Regions from separate parts of the Homo sapiens genome. Here region 2 is linked to region 1. The links are contacts of gene promoters, found by promoter capture Hi-C in human tissues and cell types (Jung and others, 2019). All regions are on one chromosome and are shown on one strand. The core of a region is centred on a gene start or on the middle of the fragment in contact, and the rest is flanking DNA. Distances in the headings are between cores, read along the strand shown.

Evidence for each region. Contacts are between HindIII fragments. The study calls those that stand out against the background at their distance.
Region 2: a fragment that was not itself captured here is called in contact with the fragment with the promoter of RNF185 in region 1 in 1 of the 25 tissues and cell types used here (spleen).

The regions. Positions count from the first base shown.
Region 1 is chr22:31,156,357-31,164,074 of GRCh38, forward strand. RNF185 (ring finger protein 185) reads left to right here and starts at 3,826. Exons shown (of 7, transcript NM_152267.4): 1 at 3,826-3,947. MIR3928 (microRNA 3928) reads right to left here and starts at 3,763; the gene lies at 3,706-3,763. It also overlaps the pseudogene SNRPNP2. The HindIII fragment of the contact is 14,525 bases long and covers 1-7,718 here.
Region 2 is chr22:30,617,955-30,625,672 of GRCh38, forward strand. It overlaps TCN2 (transcobalamin 2), which reads left to right. Exons shown (of 9, transcript NM_000355.4): 8 at 5,014-5,129. Among named protein-coding and RNA genes, the nearest start is that of SLC35E4, 14 kb to the right of the region's middle. The HindIII fragment of the contact is 9,250 bases long and covers 1-7,718 here.

The DNA of each region.
Region 1 (7,718 bases), core at 2,576-5,075:
GTGGTACCCGAGCAATGCCAGTATATTTTGGGGGTAGCCCCTCCACAGTCATGGATACCAAGTTCTCCCCATGCAGCAACACCAGACCCCAAAAGTGCTTTTCTTCGAGCTCTGGTTGCTTCACGTTCTTTGGCTTGATCTTTCTGAACTCATCACAATCGCAGAGGATCAAATTCACATGCTTGTCAAACGCCTTAAAGATGCCAAAGAAGATTGTGCCTTCCTGTAGGATGCATTTCATTCTATAGTCAATGTGCTGCTGCAGCCTTGCTACTCGTGCCCACAGTCGTGATTGCTGCTTCACCAAATCCCGTGTCCACAGTTAAAACTTCGTGCTTCTTAAGACCTGGGGGAAAGCTATAGATAAAGGTATGGTGCAGGTTCTCCCAGAAACAATGCAAGCTGAGGGGGAAACGTGGTGGCTCACGCCTGTAATCCCAACACTTTGGGAGGCTGAGGAGGGCAAATCACCTGAAGTCAGGAGTTCGAGAGCAGCCTGGCCAACATGGTGAAATCCCATCTCTACTAAAAATACAAAAATTAGCTGGGTGGTAGTGGCATGCACCTGTAATCCCAGATACTCAGGAGGCTGAGACAGGAGAATCGCTTGAGCTAGGGAGGCGGAGGTTGAGGTGAGTCAAGATGGCATCACTGTACTCCAATCTGAGTGACAGAGTGAGGTGCTGTCTCAAAAATATATGTATAATTTTTAAAAGTATATTGAAAGCATTGGGTGAGGTGGCTCATGCCTGTAATCCCAACACTTTGGGAGACCAAACTGGGAGGATCCCTTGAGGCCAGGAGTTTGAGACCAGCTTGGGCAACAGCAGGACCCTGTCTCTACAGAAAAATAAAAAATATTAGCTGGGTGTGGTGCGTGCCTGTAGTCACAGTTATTCAGGAGACTGAGGTGGGAGGATCACTTGAGCCCAGGAGTTGAAGCCTGCAGTGAGTTAGGATGGTGTGCCACTGCACTCCAGTCTGGACCACAGGCTGAGACCATGTTTTTTTAAAAAAATAAAAAATAGATAATGGATCGATTGATAGAGAAAGCTCACTCTGTGATGAACCTGTTCCGAGTATCCTCATAACAACTTTTTGAGGAAGGAAGAAATTGGAACACACCTGTGGTTAAACAAGTTGAGTTTATCACTTGTTATGGGGTAAGGGTGAGAGGACATGAATCATGAGAAACAATAGGGCAGCTGGGCTTGGTGGTTCACATCTGTAATCCCAGCACTGTAGAAGCCCAAGGTGGGAGGAACACCTTAGGTCAGGAGTTCGAGACCAGCCTGGCCAACATGGTGAAACCCTGTCCCTACTAAAAATACAAAAATTAGCCGGGAGTGATGGTGGGCGCCTGTAATCCCAGCTACTTGGGAGGCTGAGGCAGAAGAATCACTTGAACCCAGGAGGCAGAGGCTGCAGTGAGCCGAGATCACACCACTGCACTCCAGCCTGAGTGATAGAGTGATACTCTGTCTCAAAAACAAACAAACAAACAAACAAACAAACAAAGGGGCATCTCAGTAACAAAGTGTTACAAAGGACACATAGGATTTGGGCTTGCATTAGGTGATTTGGACGAGGGCTTAAGAAAATGGGGTTTTCTGGATTGGATGCTGCCTATGAGTGAGTACCTTGATAAACATTATTTAGAAGGAGGGAAGAGTAGACCGAGGCTAAATCTATAATCTCTATACAAGCCAGAATAGGGAAATGTTTGGCCATTTTTGTAGTTCGAACAATGCTCATGTTTTGTCTGGGTTTAGACATGATTCAAGTGGTTTTGTTATTGTCTTGATCCATCATGGTCACATAGTGGCTTTGTTTGATGTTGATGTTCTGTGAAGTTTTTATGTTCAATAAGAGAACACACCAAGGTCTATTTGTGAGTGCCAGACCATCTCCTGGATGTCAGGGGCTGTTTTTCTCTTAGCGCTTGGTTTCAAATCCAGGTTTGTGTGACTGGAAACATCCCTTGTATTACTTCTTGATCACAGGAACTTGCAAAGGTGGCTGGCAGACTAGGACTTTCATCTATGAGCTTATTTCATCTACTATTTTTTATTTTTTTTTCTGAGATGGAGTTTCACTCTTGTCGCCCAGGCTGGAGTGCAATGGCACGATCTTGGCTCACTATAACCTCTGTCTCCTGGGTTCAGGCAATTCTCCAGCCTCAGCCTCCCAAGTAGCCGGGATTACAGGTGCCCGCCACCACGCCTGGCTAATTTTTGTATTTTTAGTAGAGATGAGTTTCACCATGTTGGCCAGGCTGGTCTCGAACTCCTAACCTCAGGTGATCTGCCTGCCTCGACCTCCCAAAGTGCTGGTATTATAGGCGTGAGCCACCGCGCCGGCCTTTATCTACTATGTTCACCTCCTACTCAGGTCCGATCCCTAACCGTTCCTGGGATAACTGTAGGTACTTAATAAATGCTTGTTGAATGAATGAAGATGGCTGTCAAGAACTCCAATGACTGCTTGAGTGCAAATCACAAGCTCCATCACCTATCAGTATGTGATTTGATACAATATGTATTAACAGCTAATCCACAATCCATATTCAAATTTCATTACTTGTCCCAATATTGTCCATTACAACTATTCCACCACCACCACTACCCCAGTCCAGGGTCCTATTTAGAATCACACACCACATTTTGTTGTCATGCTTCTTTAGTCTCCTTTAAACTGGAACAGTTCCTCAGCTTTTCTCTGTTTTTCATGACAATGAGTTATTTTGTAGACAGTGTCCTTCATTTGGGGTTCTCTAGCACTTCCTCATGAGATGTGTACGGTGCACTTTTGACAGAAATACCACAGATGTGTTCTCAGTGCATTTTATTAGGAGGCCCTTGATCTGACCCATTAACTAGTGGTGTTAACTTTGATCACTTTGATCTGTTTGTTCTGCTAGGTTAAACCTCTGTAACATCACCATTTTCCCTTTGTAATCAATAGCTAATTTATGGGAGACACTTTTGCTGTTGTAAACATCCCGTTTCTCTAGTTTTACCACACATTATTGATTTCCTAATTCCACCATGTTTATTAGCTAGCATTCTACTAAAAGGAAGACTTTCCCTTCACCCATTAATATGCTCACTTCTTTATGTTTGTAAAGACTCATGGATTACTATTTTATTCAATTAGTTATACTCTATTACTATCACTCCATATTTTGATTCTGAAATTGCCCTGACTTGGCCAGTAAGATCTCCTTAAAGACAGCTCCTGTGTTCTTTGACACATTCCCATGATTCTTATTACCATCATCCTTATATTCTGGTGTAACAAGATGTTCCAAGTTTATCTGGTACTTTCCGGAATGAGTTAGTTCTTTCTCTCTCTCTTTTTTTTTTTTTTTTTTGACGGAGTCTCACTCTGACGCCCAGGCTAGAGTGCAGTGGTGCGATCTCAGCTCACTGCAACCTCCGCCTCCCGGGTTCAAGCGATTATCCTGCCTCAGCCTCCCGAGTAGCTGGGATTACAGGTGTGCGCCACCACGACCGGCTACTTTTTGTATTTTGAGTACAGAGGGGTTTCACCATTTTGGCCAGGCTGGTCTCGAACTCCTGACCTCAAGTGATCCATCCGCCGCGGCCTCCCAAACTGCTGGAATTACAGGTGGGAGCCACCGCGCCCGGCCGGAATCAGTTTTTTTCTTTTAGGAGCCCCGAACCCAAAGCTCTTTGAAAAGCTGCCGAAGCTCCAAGGTTCCTCCGCTTCCTGCCCGCAGGCGGAACCTTAGAGCTTCAGCCATGGAAATTAACCTCTTCCGGTTGGGGCCGGAAGTCCCTCCGAGAGGGGCGGCTCCGCGTCATGTGACTGGAGTCCGCGTAGGAGGGGTCGGAGGTCTTACCCAACAGATTGACGCGGCGTTAGTATTGGCCGTGTACCCGAAAAACTGATTGACTGGGCTGGCGTTAACTGTGCGGAGGCAGGTATGTGAGGGGCTGGGGTTGGGGCGGGGGCGCCAAAGTTTAGGGACGGGGGCGGGAGACCCGGGTCCGCCTTCCCAGGACACACGGGCTTGAACATCTGAGCCCAGGGGCCCAGAGACAGCAAGACCGGTCGTGTCTGTCCCCGAAAAGAGGACGAGCTGGCGTTGTGGTTCTGCGTCCCATGAATACAGATTGGGGAAACTGAGGCCTTGCGAAAGAGAAGGGCTCCCACAAGCTCTCCTTTCGAGGCATGGGCACTGATTCCCATTCTATCCCCCGTGCGAGACCGCCTCTATCATCTGGGAGTGCATTTCACGAGTTTGCCCTGAGTGGAGAAGCAGAGGCCGGGGAGCGCGGTGAACAGAGTTGGGCTGAAAGTAAGAGACCTGGATTCGAGACTTCGCCACCGACAGACAATTGTGCGTTCTGGGCCAAATCTCTTCCCTGTGCTGGGCCTCAGTTTTCTCGTCTCTAAAACGGGGCAGTGTTTTTCAAAATATGGTTCTTACACCATCTGCTTTGTAATTCTCTGAGATGCCGGCTTTACAGCGCGGGACTCAATTCAGACTTCTGGTTTAGAATCTGAACTTATGCGTAGGGGGGTCCTGTATATACTAATGTTTGAAGCTCATTGATTTTAAGTGCTTTCCTGCTGTGAGCACTAGATATCCATTCTTCGCTTTGAGGCAGCTGGTGCCAGTTCAGGAACTTTGAAAGAACTGGAATGGTTAGCTCAGTAAAGAGAGCACTGGAAGGGAATTAACTTTTTAAAAATTGAAAATACTGTTACGGCAAAGAGGGCTTCCACTTCATCTTTAGGCTAAAAGAGGCAGAACTAGGACTAACAGGTGAATTCTACAGGAAGGCAAGATTTTTGCTTAATAGAAGAACTTAAATGGAAGAATCGTCAGAGGTGACCACCGATGGAGTGAATGGATTGCCTCCGTGCCTCCTTTCGAGGGAGGTATATAGGTATTAGATGAAGGTCCTTTCCAACTTGAAAGTCTGTGATTCCAAGGAGTTGTTCTGCATCTTTCTGGTGCTGACTCTGCTCTCAAGGCAAATGTGACTTTTTTCTTCTCTTTTGACACTTCCATCACTTTAGCCTACATCTCCTGTAAATAAGGCCAATGCATCTGACCTTACATAATCTCTTCCTGGTTGTCCTGTGCACCATCCTTCTTTTCAAGGACTTTGGAATGACCCAATATCTGATAGAGGCACCTTAAATGTTTATTGAATGAATAAGTAAACTGGGTCCCACCCCATGGGTTAGTAGCTTTTTTCTAAGAACAAGTTGGAAATGCCTCTGAAGATTTTATGTTTGACCAGGAGAAGCCAGTGAACTCTGAATCACAAAATTGAGGACTCTCAGTTGAAAGCACCCCTTGAGGTTGTTCAGACCAGCCTTCTCTTCCCTGGAACATAATCCCTGCTTGAATCCTCTCTTCAGCAATATGTGTATAGATGTGAGAGAATTTTTGCAGTCTGTTGGCTAGCTTTCCATGCATCATATAAAAACAGTCCTCTTATAGACTTGACTTGCCAGTTCACACACATGACAAGTTCCAGCTTTTTTTTTTTTTTTTTTGAGTATTTAGTAGAGATGGGGTTTCACCATGTTGGCCAGGCTGGTCTCGAACTCCTGACCTCAAGTGATCCGCCTGCCTCAGCCTCCCAAAGTGCTGGGATTTCAGGTGTAAGCCACTGTGCCTGGCCTCTAGCATACCTTTGGTTTTCTAATCAAACATTATTATGTCCTTATTTTGTGCATTACAAAGCTCTGCCTAAATCACTTTTTCAACACCTGCTAGAATGCTTAGGAATGTTTATGTTGTCTTAGGGAGCAGAGGCTCCATATTATGACCCAGTTCTGCTGACTTGCTCCCCCGCCGCCACAAAAGTTAGGGTTGAGCCAAAACTTCCTGCCAGTTATCGACTTGTGTTTCCCAAGATTAAAAAATAAAAAAGTTGTGAAATGCTTATTCAGATGTTATCCAGGTACTGGGTAAAATGATCTTAATTTGTTGGAGTTTTTAGAACTTCTCGATCTAAAAGTTTCCTTTTAAAGAAGTGTCTGAATTGACATTCTCATAAGTATGTTCTTCAGGCCACTGGTCTGAAGAAGTGGCTCTGAAAAAAGGATTTGATGCTAATAATAAGTTTGAGAAAGCCACATACCATTATTCTTTCTTGGAGCTTCTCAATGTGTAATACCACATTAAAACCACTGAGAGGTCCTGCAATAAGGAAATGTGCCTTATAAGCCAAGATAATAACTTGTTCCATTTGTTTAATCTACTTGATGTCAAATCTTTTTTTTTTTTTTAATTGAAGCACACGTTAGCAAATTCTGACCTAGAGTGGGGATCTGCATACTATATATAGGCTGTGAACCAAACCTGGACCTACTGCTTGTTTATATGGTCTGTGAGCTAAGGGTGCTTTTTACATTTTTCTTTCTTTTTTTTTTTTTTTTAAGACGGAGTCTCGCTCTGTTGCCCAGGCTGGAATGCAGTGGCTCCATCTCAGCTCACTGCAAGCTCCGCCTCCTGGGTTCATGCCATTCTCCTGCCTCAGCCTCCCGAATAGCTGGGACTACAGGCGCCCACCCCGATGACTGGCTAATTTTTTGTATTTTTAGTAGAGGTAGGGTTTCACTGTGTTAGCCAGGATGGTCTTGATCTCCTGACCTCGTGATCTGCCCGCCTCAGCCTCCCAAGGTGCTGGGATTACAGGCGTGAGCCACCACGTCTGGCCTGCTTTTTACATTTTTAAATGATGGGAAATAAAAGAAGAATAATATTACATAGGTGACAATTACAGGAAGATAAAATTTCAGTGTTCATTTCAGTCACACCCATTTATTTATATTCATATATATTTACATATTGTCTTTGGGTGCTTTAATGCTACTCAGTGGAGTTGATTACTTCCCATAAAAACCATATGGTCCACAGAGTCTGAAGTATTTACTCTATGGCCCTTTATGGAAAAAAAATTGCCAATTCCTGACCTGCATCGTGTACATTTTTTTTTTTTGAGACAGTGACTCGCTCTGTTGCCCAGGCTGGAGTGCAGTGGCACGAACATAGCCTACTACAGCCTTGACCTCCTGGGCTGAAGCCATCTTCCCACCTCAGCCACCCGAGTAGTTGGGACTACGGGCACACACCACCACACCCAGCTAACTTTTAGGTTTCTTGTAGAGATGAGGTCTCACTATGTTGCCCAGGCTGGTCTCAAATCTCCGAGCTCAAATGATTCTCCTGCCTCAGCCTCTCAAAGTGCTAGGATTACAGGTATGAGCCACCACTCCCAGCCATGTATTGTTTTTTAACTTTTTATTTTATTTTATTTATTTATTTATTTATTTATTTATTTATTTGAAACGGAGTCTCACTCTGTCCTCCAGGCTGGAGTGCAGTGGCGCAATCTCGGCTCACTGTAACCTCCACCTCCCGGGCTCAAGCAATTCTCCTGCCTCAGCCTTCTGAGTAGCTGGGACTACAGGTGCACGCCACCTTGCCTGGCTAATTTTTGTATTTTTAGTGGAGACGGGGTTTCACCATGTTGGCCAGGATGGTCTCAATCTCCTGACCTCAAGTGATCCACCCACCTCAGCTTCCCAAAGTGCTGGGATTACAGGCTTGAGCCACCGTGCCTGGCCCCTTATTATTATTATTATTATTTTTTAGATGGAGTTTCACTCTTGTTGCCCAGGCTGGAATGCGGTGGGACAGTCTCAGCTCACTGCAACCTGTGCCTCCC
Region 2 (7,718 bases), core at 2,503-5,002, 540 kb before region 1:
TAAGAGACAGGGTCTCAATCTTATCACCCAGGCTGGAGTGTAATTGTGCAATCACGTCTCACTGCAGTCTCGAACTCTGGGGATGAAGCAACCCTACTGTCCTGCCTCAGCCTCCCAAATAGCTGAGACTATAGGCACGTGCCACACAACCCTGGGTAATTTTTTTTTTTTTTTTTTTTGAGATAGGGTCTCTGTCTGTTGCCCAGGCTGGTCTCAAATTCCTGGCCTCAAACCATCCTCACACCTGAGGCGCTCAAAATATTGGGATTATAGGTGCGAGCCATCATGCTCAGCCAGAATAATAACTGGTTTTTTTTGTTTTTTTTTTTGAGACAGAGTCTCACTCTATTACCCAGGCTCTGGAGGCCCAACTCGTGTTTGTGTATTTGTTTATTTTTATTTATTTATTTATTTCGAGACAGAGCCTCTCTCTTTCACCTAGGCTGGAGTGCAGTGGCGCAATCTCGGCTCACTGCAACCTCCGTCTCCTGGGTTCAAGTGATTGTCCTGCCTCAGCCTCCTGAGTAGCTGGCGCTACAGGCGCGTGCCACCATGCCCAGCTAATTTTTGTATTTTTAGTAGAGACAGGGTTTTACTATGTTGGCCAGCTGGTTTCTAACTCCTGAACTCGGGTGATCTGCCTGCCTCGGCCTCCCAAAGTGCTGGGATTACAGGCATGGGCCTCCGTGCCCGGCCATGTATTTATTTAGGCAAGGTCTCTCTCTGTTATCCAGGCTGAAGTGCAGTGGCACATTCATAGCTCACTGCAGCCTCAAATTATCCAAGTAACAGGGACTACAGGCATGCACCACCACACCCATCTACTTTTTTTTGAGATGGAGTCTCCCTCTGTCGCCCAGACTGGGTTGCAGTGGCACAATTTCAGCTCATGGCAGCATCTACCTCCCAGGTTCAAGCGATTCTCCTTCCTCAGTCTCCCGAGTAGCTGGGACTATGGGCATGCACCACCATACCTGGCTAATGTTTATATTTTGAGTAGAGATGGAATTTTGCCATTTTGGCCAGGCTGGTCTTGAGCTCTTGACCTCAAGTGATATGTCTGCCTCAGCCTCCCAAAGTGCCGGGATTACAGGCATGAGCCACTATGCCTGGCCCAGAATAAGAACTTTTATTTTATTTGAGACAGGGTCTTACTCTGTCACCTAGGCTAGAGTGCAGTGGCACAATCACAGCTCACTGTAGCCTCAATCTTCCGGGCTCTGATCCTCCCACCTTAGCCTCCCAGGTAGCTGGGAACAACAGGCATGCGCCACCACGCTTGGCAAATATTTTTTTAAAATTTTTTGTAGACATGGGATTGCTTCATGTTGCCCAGACTGGTCTCAAACTCCTGGACTCAAGCGATCTACCCACCTTGGCCTCCCAAAGTGCTGAGATAACAGGCGTGAGCCGCCGTGGCTGGCCAGAATAAGAACTTTTATTATGAAATAAGTTTGGCCCTATCCTGTTATTAATTACCTCAAAGAGGTTGGACAATGTCCTTACACTTGCTTCTCACCCTGAGCTTAGAATAGTTTGAGAATGAGCATGTCTGGACTGTTGTTTGACAGGTCCTGTCCATGATGAAATAAGATGAATGTAATTCTCATGTTATCAGTGGGGAGTCCAGCCCAGAGAAGTTGAATGCCTTCCACCAGGTCACGCACACCACAGACTTCTCCCCTAGAATCATGGGCCTATCTCTGTCCCCAGTGGGAGTTCCTGGAAAACAGCATCCTGCATCCAGGGAGGGCCCACAGTTGGTTCCTTCGGGTCCTCTAGGCTAGAGAATCTCAGACCGGAGAAATGCAAAGACTCCTCTGAAGTACAAACATTCTCCCAGACCCCAGGTTAAGTTATTTCTTCTATAATATCACTTAGATGTGTACTGATAATTTTATTAAATATAAAGTCTTTGGCCAGAGCTGGTGGCTCACTCCTGTAATTCCAGTGATTTGGGAGGCTGAGGCAGGAGGATCACTTGAGCCTAGGAGTTTGAGACCAGCCTGGGCAACATAGTGAGACTGCCATCTCTTCAAAAAAATTTTTTTAATTAGCTGGGCATGATGGTGTGCACCTATAATCCTAGCTACCCAGAAGGCTGAGGTGGGAGGACTGCTTGAGCCCAGGAGTTCAAGGCGGCAGCAAGCTATGATGACGTCACTGTCCTGTAGCCTGGATGACAAAACTTTTTTTTTTTTTTTAAAAGACAAAGGGCTGAGTGTGATGGCTAACACCTGTAATCCCAGCACTTTGGGAGGCCAAGGTGGGCAGATTACTTGAGGCCAGGAGTTCAAAACCAGCCGGGCCAACGTGGCGAAAGCCCGTCTCTACCACACACAAAAAAAGTCCTTTCTCTTTCTAGCTCTAGACAGCTATAAATCCCCAACAACTTTATAAATTAAATAGAAAAGTATAAAAACCAATACCATTCAAATAAGGATGCTCTGCGGAGGTGCTGGCCTGCACTTTAGCACCTCCCTGTATTCAAGCTGCAGTGAAGCCTGGGCACTCCTGGCCTGGCTCAGCCACTTCATTCACTATGAGGGCCACCTCCGTTTCCTTCCTGTGGCCTATGGCACATAACGCAATGCTGCTGGGCACCAGCGCAGTCACTGATGGCCACGCATAGGCTGAGTGCCCTTGGGAGGGCTCAGACCCACAGACTGAGATTACCCAGAACCAGCTGGTATTCATGTTTGAATATTGTCATCAAAATGAAAGACAATTAGAATTTAACGTTTTTATTCAGAGCTCGGGGATCTCTGGGAAGACACTGTGGACTCCAGTCTGAGAAATGGTTCTCTTGTTAGTGTGCATGGATGCCTCAACTGGGTTCAGGCATGAAGACTATGTTTGAGGCCCCTGAATGCACAGCAGAGAAAGCTCAACTGCAGACACAGATAGACAGATGTGGAGAGAGGTAGCCCTGTGCAGCCACATGGCCCTGCAGAGTTAAGGAATGGGAAAAGGGCTACTCTGTGACATTCCTTAGAACAGTAGTTTCCCTTCGCTAAAGTCACCCCAAATAGGGTGGTGGTTGTTGTTGTTGTTTTGAGACGGAGTTGCATTCAGTCGCCCAGGCTGGAGTGCAGTGGCACGATCTCGGCTCACTGCAACCTCCACCTCCTGGGTTCAAGCGATTCTCCTGCCTCAGCCTCCTGAGCAGCTGGGATTACAGGGGCCCACCATCACACCTGGCTAGTTTTTGTATTTTTAGTAGAAATAGGGTTTCACCATGTGAGCCAGGCTGGTGTCAAACTCCCAACCTCAGGTGATCCACCCACCTCCGCCTCCTCAAGTGCTGGGATTACAGATGTGACCCACCGCGCCCCACCTGTGTTTCTTAAAACCAAAAAAATCCCTCTAAGACTGCAACCATCGATAACTTAGGGCTGTATTACCCCAGAGAGCACTTTGTAGAAGATGCGTTTGTTCACATCACTTCCCTGTTACTTTGACGGTCTCACCTCCTTTTCAGTCATTTGCATTCTCCCAGAACCTGCTCATTTGTTGTTTTTTGTTTGTTTGCTTGGTTTTGTTTTTGAGAAGCAGTCTTGCTCTGTTACCCAGGCTGGAGTGCAGTGGTGCGACCTCAGGTCACTGCAACCTCCGCCTACTAGGTTCAAGTGATTCTCCTGCCTCAGTCTCCTGAATAGCTGGGATTACAGGTGTGCACCACCATGCCCAGCCTAATTTTTGTATTATTAGTAGAGATGGGGTTTCACCATGTTGTCCAGGCTGGTCATGAACTCCTGACCTCAAGTGATCCACCCGCTTTGGCCTCCCAAAGTGCTGGGATTACAAGCATGAGCCACAGTGCCTGGCCTGACCCTGCTCTTTTGAAAGACCATTCCCCCAAATTCTGTGCACCTGTGTGCCTTTCTTCTCTCTGCCTCCTCTCAGCTCTGCCCCGCTCTCCTCCCTTCTCCTCTGGCAAATCCCACTCATCTCTTGAAGCCCTTCTTCCAGGGGAAGCCCTGATCATGCTGCTTTCTCCTGTGGGAGGGATGAAGGACGTGGCCCACGGAGTTTGTTTTGTTTTGTTTTGAGATGGAGTTTTGCTCATGTTGCCCAGGCTGGGGTACAATGGTACGATCTCAGCTCACTGCAACCTCTACGTCCCGGGTTCAAGCGGTTCTCCTGCCTTAGCCTCCCCAGTAGCTGGGATTACTGGCATGAACCACCACACCTGGCTAATTTTGTGTTTTTAGTAGAGATGGGGTTTCTTCATGTTGGTCAGGCTGGTCTCGAACTCCCAACCTCAGGTGATCTGCCTGCCTTGGCCTCCCAAAGTACTGGGATTACAGGGTTGAGCCACTGTGCCTGGCCCAGGCCCACGGAGTTTTAAGAGGCTTCCTGTGGCAGTGGCATCCAGACGGAGTGCAGAAACTCAAAGTTGAAGGCCAGAAGCTCAGGGAAGGGGGAGTGTGAGTTGAGGAGTCTCTTGGCTGCCAGGGCCAGAAACCGAACTCCAAGCCTCTCCACAACAGCGGGTGTAGAGCATGTAGAATCAGAGAGGAGGCTGAGCCATGCAGCCCCGAGAAGAGGGGAATGCCACTGAGCCACAGAGACCCAGTGCCACTGCCAGGTGTCTCTGCCTCCACTTCCCATGACCCTGCCTGTCTCTGTATGCAGGCTTCACCCTCTCTCGTTGTACATTGTACACATTCTAGGTGACACCAGCAGCTTCTGATTCTCATCCCCCATAACATCAGCCCCCCAGAGAGGGGACAACTGCTGAGCTGATAACATAATAGATGCCCCTTTCCTGGAGGCCATGGTCATGGTCAGCGTGGAGAGGATGAAGCCTGAGCAGGCAGGATCGGGGGTCTGGAGGGGAAGGAGGTGGAAGTTGAGATCACAGACCTGTGGCCAGGTGGCCTGGGAAGGGTTTGACGAGTGTCGGCCCAAAGAGCTTGGAAGGGATTTTGCTGCTGTGGGTGAGCACTGCCTCTCCCCTTAGGGACAACAGCCACCTCTTCTCTCCCCATTTGCCTTTCCCTTCTGTAGATATGAAACACAGGCCTCCTTGTCAGGCCCCTACTTAACCTCCGTGATGGGGAAAGCGGCCGGAGAAAGGGAGTTCTGGCAGCTTCTCCGAGACCCCAACACCCCACTGTTGCAAGGTGAGTCATGGCCTGACACTCTGGATGTGTCCCCTACCCCAAGCTTACTCAGCCAAGAGGCTTCATCAACTCACCCCAGCTTTCCCTAGCACCCTCCTGGGCCACACCTTCACAAAATCACTGATGCTCAAAGTTGGATATAATATATTGAACTGAAGCCTTAGAATTTTTATGCAAGTTACTGTGGAAATTCTAGGAAACCAGACAGATTACAAAAAAAAAAAAAAACTAGAAGAAAATTAACATCACCTAGGATATACTACCTAGGAATAACGTCTTTTATTTTGAGATGGAGTTTCGCTCTTGTTGCCCAGGCTGGAGTGCAGCGGTATGATCTCGGCTCGCTGCAACCTCCGCCTCCTGGGTTCATGTGATTCTTCCACCTCAGCCTTCCTAGAGCCCAAGTGGTCTGCCTGCCTCTGCCTCCCAAAGTTCTGGGATTACAGGCATGAGCCACCGCACCCAGCCAAAATTACTTAACTTTTCTTCTAGATACTTTTTAAAAATATGGCAGTAAGTTTTTCATAAAAAATGGAGCCATGCTATCCAGTGGAAATTTAATGTTGCCCACATGTATAACTTAAAAATTTCATATATGTGTATACATATATATGAAATATATATATATACAGACACACATATATATGTATACATATATATACACACATATATATGTATATATATATACACACATATATATGTATACATATATACACACATACACATATATACACACACATACACACACATATACACACACATACATACACATACATACACACATATATACACACATATATACACACATATATATGTATACATATATATACACACATATATATGTATACATATATACACACACACATATGTATACATATATACACACACATATATATGTATACATATATACACACATATATATGTATACATATATACACACATATATATGTATACATATATACACACACACACACACACATATATATATATATATATATTTTTTTTTTTTGAGATGGAGTCTTGCTCTGTTGCCCAGGCCGGAGTACAATGGCGAGGTCTCAGCTCACTGCAGCCTCTGCCTTCTGAGCTCAAGCAATTCTCCTGCCTCAGCCTCCCAAGTAGCTGGGATTACAGGTGTGTGCCACCATGCCCAGTTATTTTTGTATTTTTAGTAGAGACGGGGTTTCACCATGTTGGCCAGGCTGGTCTCAAACTCCTGACCTCAAGTGATCTGCCTGCCTCAGCCTCCCAAAGTGCTGGGATTACAGGCGTGAGCCACCACGCCTGGCCTGCAAACAGACCCTTAAAAGTCATCTGTTCCTACTCTTGTTATTTAAGTTGCTTTGATACTCCACCCCTGAAGAACTTTTATGGGGCACTTACCATGTGTCAAGCATTGTGGCGAGTGCTTATAGAGAAGGTGGGACTTTCTGAGGGAGCCCACAAAAAAGCATTCTTTTCTTGCCCTCATTCTGAATAAATTGAGGAATAAAAAATAGGAGCTACAGATGGAGACCCCAAGTCTGGCCAGTTCTATTACTGATAAAGACAGGAGGGTGAGAGCTAGGTGGACCCAGCCAGGAAGCAGACCTGGGCAGTTGTAGCCTCTATCTCCTTCCCCCTCTGCCCTTGAGTCTAGAAGGAAGCCCGCTCCCAGGAGAAAAATAGCGCCCAGGCTACACATGCCTAGTTTATTCTTCCCAAATCAACCAGTTGCATAAATCACTCCTCTATCTTCCTTGGGGTGGAAAGTGGATGGGAGTTATAATTTGAGTTCTCTTTTGTCTTAGTCCATTGAAGCTGCTATTACAAAATACCATAAACTGGGTGGCTTATAAACAGCAGAAATGAGGCCGGGTGCGGTGGCTCATGCCTATAATTCCAGCACTTTGGGAGGCCAAGGCAGGTGGATCACCTGAGATCAGTAGTTCAAGACTAGCCTGACCAACATGGTGAAACCCTGTCTCTACTAAAAATACAAAAAATTAGCTGGGGGTGGTGGCGGGCACCTGTAATCCCAGCTACTCAGGAGGCTGAGGCAGGAGAATCGCTTGAACCCAGGAGGCGGAGGTTGCCGTGAGCTGAGATCACGCCATTGCATTTCAGCCTGGGCAACAAGAGTGAAACTCCATCTCAAAATGAAATAAAATAACAGAAATGTATTTCTTAACAGTTCTGGAGGTTGGGTGGGCAGTCCCAGATCAGGACACTGACAGATTCAGTGTCTGATGGGGGCCCACTTTCTGGTGTTACCTGCTGGCTGTGTTCTCACATGGTGGAAGGAACATGGCAACTTTCTGGGGCCTTGTTTTTTAATTTAAAAAAAAAAAATATTTTCCTGGCCCTTGCCTGCTGAAGGAACCTCTTTTATAATGGTACTTAAAAATTTTTTTTTTTGAGATGGGGGTCTCACTCTGTCACCCACGCTGAGTGCAGTATCACAATCTCAGCTCACTGCAACCTCTGCCTCCCTGGCTTAAGCGATCCTCCCACCTCAGCCTCCTGAGTACGTGTGACCATAGGCCCATGGCACAAAGCCCAGCTAATTTTTTGTATTTTTAGTAGAAATGTGGTTTCACCATGTTGCAT